Regions from separate parts of the Homo sapiens genome. Here region 2 is linked to region 1. The links are contacts of gene promoters, found by promoter capture Hi-C in human tissues and cell types (Jung and others, 2019). All regions are on one chromosome and are shown on one strand. Each heading gives the region's core, a stretch centred on a gene start or on the middle of the fragment in contact. The rest is flanking DNA. Distances are from core to core; before and after follow the strand shown.

What was found. Contacts are between HindIII fragments. The study calls those that stand out against the background at their distance.
Region 2: a fragment that was not itself captured here is called in contact with the fragment with the promoter of TAF1C in region 1 in 1 of the 25 tissues and cell types used here (dorsolateral prefrontal cortex).

Annotation. Positions count from the first base shown.
Region 1 is chr16:84,185,568-84,188,502 of GRCh38, reverse strand. TAF1C (TATA-box binding protein associated factor, RNA polymerase I subunit C) reads left to right here and starts at 1,446. Exons shown (of 15, transcript NM_001243156.2): 1 at 1,446-1,602. RefSeq lists a silencer at 1,251-1,460 and an enhancer at 1,106-1,606. The HindIII fragment of the contact is 11,118 bases long and covers 1-2,935 here.
Region 2 is chr16:84,404,990-84,407,924 of GRCh38, reverse strand. It overlaps ATP2C2 (ATPase secretory pathway Ca2+ transporting 2), which reads right to left. Exons shown (of 27, transcript NM_014861.4): 3 at 2,681-2,797. Among named protein-coding and RNA genes, the nearest start is that of ATP2C2, 38 kb to the right of the region's middle. The HindIII fragment of the contact is 6,364 bases long and covers 1-2,935 here.

The DNA.
Region 1 (2,935 bases), core at 197-2,696:
CTGCACCCTAGCCTGGGCGACAGAGTGAGACCCTGTCTCAAAAAAATAAATAAAACAAATAAAATAGGGAGATTATCCTGGATTACCTGGGCGGGCCTACTATAATCACATGGGTCCTTACATGGGAAAGAGGGAGACAGAAGAGTAAAAACCAGAGAGATGGCCTCATGAGAAGAATCCGACTGGCATTGCTGGCTTTGAAGATGGAAAGGGGTCATGAGCCAAGGAATGCAGGCAGCTTCCAGAAGCCAGAAAAGACAAGATAGTGGACTCTTCCTTAGAGCCTCTCAAAAGGAACACAGCCCTGCTGGCACTTTTAGTCCAGGTAAAAACTTCCAGATAAAAACAATATAGGCCAGGCGTGGTGGCTCATCCTGTAATCCCAGCAATTTGGGAGGCCTAGGCAGGCGGATCACTTGAGGTCAGGAGTTCAAGACTCAGCCTGACCAACATGGTGAAACCCCGTCTCTACTAAAAATACAAAAATTAGCCGGGCATGGTGGCGCAGGCCTGTAATCCCAGCTACTCGGGAGGCTGAGGCAGAAGAATTGCTTGAACCCAAGAGGCGGAGGTTGCAGTGTGCCAAGATCGTGCCACTGCACTCTAGCCTCCATCTCAAAAAAATAAATAAAGACATAGATGACAGCTGAGAATTTGGAAATTGATTCTTTAAAGCAACGGTTCTCAAAGTATGGCCCCTGGACCAGCATCATCTGGGAACTTGCTAGAAATGCAGACTCTTGGGCCACATCCCAGATCTACTGAATCAGCAACTCGGGGGGCAGAGGTAGGGTGGAGCCTAGCAAACTTGTAACAAGCCCCCCAGGTGGTTCTAAGGCTCACTGAAGTTTGAGAAGTACTATGTTAGGATAACGGTAAGGTTCATGACTGGACAGTGGTTCTTAAAGCATGGCCCCCAGATAAGCAGTTTCAGCATCACCTGGGAACTTAGGCAAATCATCAGGTCCCACCCCAGACTCACCGAATTGGAGACTGTGTTTTAACTAGCCCCCCAGGTGCTACTGCTGACGCACGCTAGCTAGAGTTTGAAGACCACTGCCTAAAGCTCTCCCTGCCTGACCACCCCTGGAAAAGCTTCACTCTTAGTAGGTATTTGTACCCTTATTTGTAAAGCCCGCTTCTTGGGATTTAAGGACAATCAGTAGGATACCTACTGACCAATACAGGTCTGGCTTATAGTAGGTGTTCTGTGGGAGTTCGTTAAATGATTAATTTAATACAACTCTGAGGAAATTGGTGAAGTAGATGTGGGATTCGAACCTAAGTCCACCCGGCCTCCACTATTGGGACTCAAGGGAGCTTTATTTCCGCTGCCCACGCGCCGCCTGCACGCCCGTTCCCTCTCCTCCCGGGAGGGGGCGCGCCAGGACCCTAAGAGGCCTGGCTGGGAGGCGGGACTTCCTGCCTCCGCAGGAGGCACTTCCGGTCCAAACCGGAAGACCGTGGGTAGCTGCGGCGGGGCTGACCCGTCCCGAGTGCCAAAGCTGGGGTTCTACTTGAGATTTCCCTCGTGGTGCCAGGGTCCGGCGAGCATCACGCCGAGGCCCATTTTCCAGACGACCACGACGAGGCCGGGGTCACGTAAGTGCACGCATGCGCCCCCTCCGCGCGGACTGCGCGTGTTCGAGGAGCGGACCCGCAGATGTAGGAGGGGAGGGACGCCCCCAATCCCCAGTCCCCGCGGCAGGCTCACGTTTCGCAGTCCCCGGCCTGTCGTTATTGCGGATCCGACTGAGTTCTGTAGCCTTGGAGGTCTAAAGGGTCCTGGAGAGCCCGCAGCGAGGGCGGGAAGCCGGCCGGGGAAGTCGAGGCTGCCTTGTCTGAGGGCTTTTGTGGGGTCGTGCTCTCCACCAGCGCCCTCCGCCTGTCTAGGATCGTTTCAGGCTATGCGGTTCCAAGAGAAAATATTTTTGTTTCTATTTTATTTTTGAGATAGAACCTTGCTCTGTCACCCAGGCTGGAGTGCTGTGGCATGATCTTGGCTCACTGCAACCTCTGCCTCCCAGATTCAAGCGATTTTCGTGCCCAGCCTCCTCGGTAGTTGCGATTACAGGTGTACACCACCACGCCCGGCTAATTTTTGTATTTTTAGTATTGACAGGGTTTCACTGTATTGGCCGGACTGGTCTCAAACTTCTGGCCTCAGGTGATCCGCCCGCCTTGGCCTCCCAAAGTGCTGGGATTGCAGGCGGGAGCCACCGCACCCGGCCAAAGGGAAAAGATTTTTGTATAGCGAGACTCTAATGCTAGCGTTTGCATTTCGGTGCATGCGAGAGCACTGGTTCGGAGCTCTGCCTCTGAATCGGATGGGAATCAAGTCTTGGCTGTGGCAGCTAAGAGCTGTTGGACTAAAGTTCTTGCTGAGCCTTCGTTTCCTGAACTCTGTTAACAGGGACGGCGATAGAAGAGTGCAGCATTTAGCATGTGCCTGGCAGATAGATGCTGGCGCTTGGTCAGCGAGCGCTGCTGTTATTTTTGCCCCTGTTATTTTTGTTAATTAAAAAGGAGGGATGCTATGGCTGCTCATACTTCTAGAGGACTGTATTTACCAAAGCCTTGTGATGTAATTTTTTTTTTTCTTGAGATGGAGTTTCGCTCTTGTTGCCCAGGCTACAGTGCAATGGCGCGATCTCAGCTCACCGCAACCTCCGCCTCCCGGCTTCAAGGAATTCTCCTGCCTCAGCCTCCCGAGTAGCTGGGATTACAGGCATGCGTCACCACGCCCGGCTAATTTTGTATTTTTAGTAGAGACCGGGTTTCTCCACATTGGTCAGGCCAGTCTCGAACTCCCGACCTCAGGTGATCCGCCTGCCTCGGCCTCCCAAAGTACTAGGATTACCGGCGTGAGCCACCGCGCCCGGCCCCTTGTGATAGAAATTTATTTTTTTCAACCCCTAGTGCATTTTCTGGGAGG
Region 2 (2,935 bases), core at 201-2,700, 220 kb before region 1:
TTTTACTTTATTTTATATATCTGCCCTTTCATTTCAGAGACATCTCATGGTAGCTCATGTTACAGAGGATTGAAAAGAAATGCAAACACATAAAACCGGATTCAGAAGGCAGACCAAAGATCAGGATAAGGAAGAGAGTTACAATATCAACAAGGGCTGGGTGCAGAGGCTCACACTGTAATCCCAGCCCTTTGGGAGGCAGAAATGGGAGGACTGCTTGAGCCCAGGAGTTTCAGTCCAGCCTGGGAAACACAGCAAAATCCCATCTTTACAAAAAAATGAAAAAATGAGCTGGGCATGGTGAGGTGCACCTGTGGTCCCAACTACTCAGAAGGCTAAGGCAGGAGGATCACTGGGGCCTGGGAAGTTGAGGCTGCAGTCAGCCGTGTTTATGCCGCTGCACTCCTGCTTGGACACCAGAGAAACCCTATCCCAGAATATAACAATAATAATAATGCACCTGGTCTGGGCACCTTGATTCCCAGGCTGCCAGGCTCCTGTCCCCTCAGGGACTCTGCACCCTGCCCTCCAGCGACGCCCTCCATCCACATCCTCACATGGCTTTCCGTCTCATTTCACTCAGATCTCTGCCCAGATGCCACCTCCTCAGAGCACCAGCCTAGTGCCTCCCTGCCATCCCGTCCAGAGCCTTACGCCGTGCTAAGGTAGAATTCCTAATGGTGAGACTCCTGAGACAGAGGAACAGGGCTGCCTTGTGAGGTGATGAGTTCCCTGTCACTGGGGGAAAGATAGGAGAATCACAACACTTGGCATGCAGGAGGAACTCAACACATGTAAGGAATTAATAAGGGAGAGCAGACAGAACCCGTATACGCAAGGGCAGGAAAACCCAGCCGTCAGGAGCTCCCGTCCAGTCCTACAAGGATTCCCACAGATGCATTGCTGAACCGACAAGCTATAAGATGAATGAGCAGGTCCTCTGCTCTCAAGAAATTTAAGAGATTTCATTTTGGGGAACACCCTGGCTGGAGGCTGGAGGAGGATCCTTGGTGAGAAGGAAGATGTTCACGGTGGGTTTCGACAGAGCAGAGGGGAACGAGGAAGGAGGATAACCAGGGGAAGTGGGGGAGCGGGTCCTAGTGGAAGGGGTGCCAGGGCAGAGCAAAGAGATCTCCAGCCGCAGAGGGGAGCTCCTCCCTCACAGCCCATGTCTCGGCCTCCTTCCCTGAACCCCAACTTCCGGGAGCCTCCACTGCCTCTTCTCAGCCCTGCAGTTTTAGGAAGCTTCTGGGCTAGCCAGAACCACCTACATACCCAGAAGCCTATTTTGCTGCCAAAACGCATCGATGAATAACATTCCCAGAACACTGAGAACTGAGCCTTGATCAGGGAGGGGACCTCAAGGAGAGTGGAGACAGAGGATGCTGCCCAGGGGACTGTGATTGGTTCCGGAATCGACCAATGGAGGAAGCTGTAAACACAGAGCCAATAGGAAGGCGGTTGAAGCCTGGGGCAGCCCAGGGGCCAGAGAATGAAGAAGGGGATGTCAGGGATGGGGCCAAGAGCATGCAAAAGGCTGGAAAAGGGGATCTAAGGCCATCTAAATGCCCTCAGGCACCTGGAAAATTCTGCCTGTTCACTGAGCCTTTCTGAACTGGTCCTGCAAAGGTGGCAGGGACTGCCGACTTCTAGAATGGAACTTGGAGCCATGTCAATTGCAGTTTTTTCTTTCCCCTTCTTAGTGGCTTCCAGGCATTTGATTGTGTGCCATTCATTCAGCACCGCGCCAGCACCGATGGCAGCAGCTAGCAAGGGAAGGGGCTCTGGGTGCAGCTCCCTGGCTGCACTGCTCTGCACTGCTCCTCACAGCTATGTGACTTTGGGCTCAGGTTACAGTAGGACACCCAGTAAAATCTAAATTTCAGAAAAACAAGGAACTTTTTGTTTTTAGTATAAGCACGTCCACTGTATTGGGACACACTTATACTAGAAATTGCTTCTTGTTTATCTATCTGAAATTCACTTTGGTTTTGTTGTTGTTGTGGAGACAAGGTCTCACTCTGTTGTCCAGGCTGGAGCACAGTGGCACAATCTCAGTTCACTGCAGCCTCCACCTCCTGGGTTCCAACAATCCTCCCACCTCAGCCTCCTCAGTAGCTGGGATTACAGGCATCCACTACCACATCCGGCTAATTTTTATATTTTTAGAAGAGACGGGGTTTCGCCATGTTGGCCGGGCTGGTCTTGAACTCCTGGGCTCAAGTGATCCACCCGCTTCAGCCGCCCAAAGTGCTTGGATTACAGGCACGAGCCACCACGCCCAGCCTGAAATTGAAATTTAACAGGGCATCCTATATTGTTATTTGCTAAACCTGGCAACTCTGGGGAAATCTTTCAACCTCTGCACTTCTCCTTCCTCATGTGCAAAGGCGGGATTAGGAGGAGGATTAGTAAGCGCATGCTTACTTATTCACTTACTCATATAGCGTGGGGCCCGGGGCCTGCTCAACTGTCTACGAAAGTGATCACTGTTTTTCCTGATCGCGGTTGCCTGGGAGTTGGTGATTTGCTCATGACTGATGCTCAGGCTGGCTGGGGCAGCGTGAAAGGGGCGGGAGCTGTCCAAGGATGCCTTCCATCAACATTGAAAGATGGAATGGCTGCCCCACCCTCGCTGGCTTATGCATGTTAATGCAAAGAATGACACCTCTGGTCCTACCTGATCCAGGTATTTCTTCCACACAGGTTCGCTGTTGTCAGCAACAAACTCATTCCAGCCATGGGCCAGCCGGCGCTGCGTCACCGAGAACTCCGACAGCCCAGTGTGTAAGTCCACCTGGAAGGAGAGGTCAGGCACAAGCTCACTCATGGGCGCAGCAAGGAATGAGGCAACAGGGTACAGACTCCCACTCTGAAAGGCAGCGGCTTCCATGATGGGCCAGGGACACAGGCTTGTCCACCAAGGTGCTGGGAC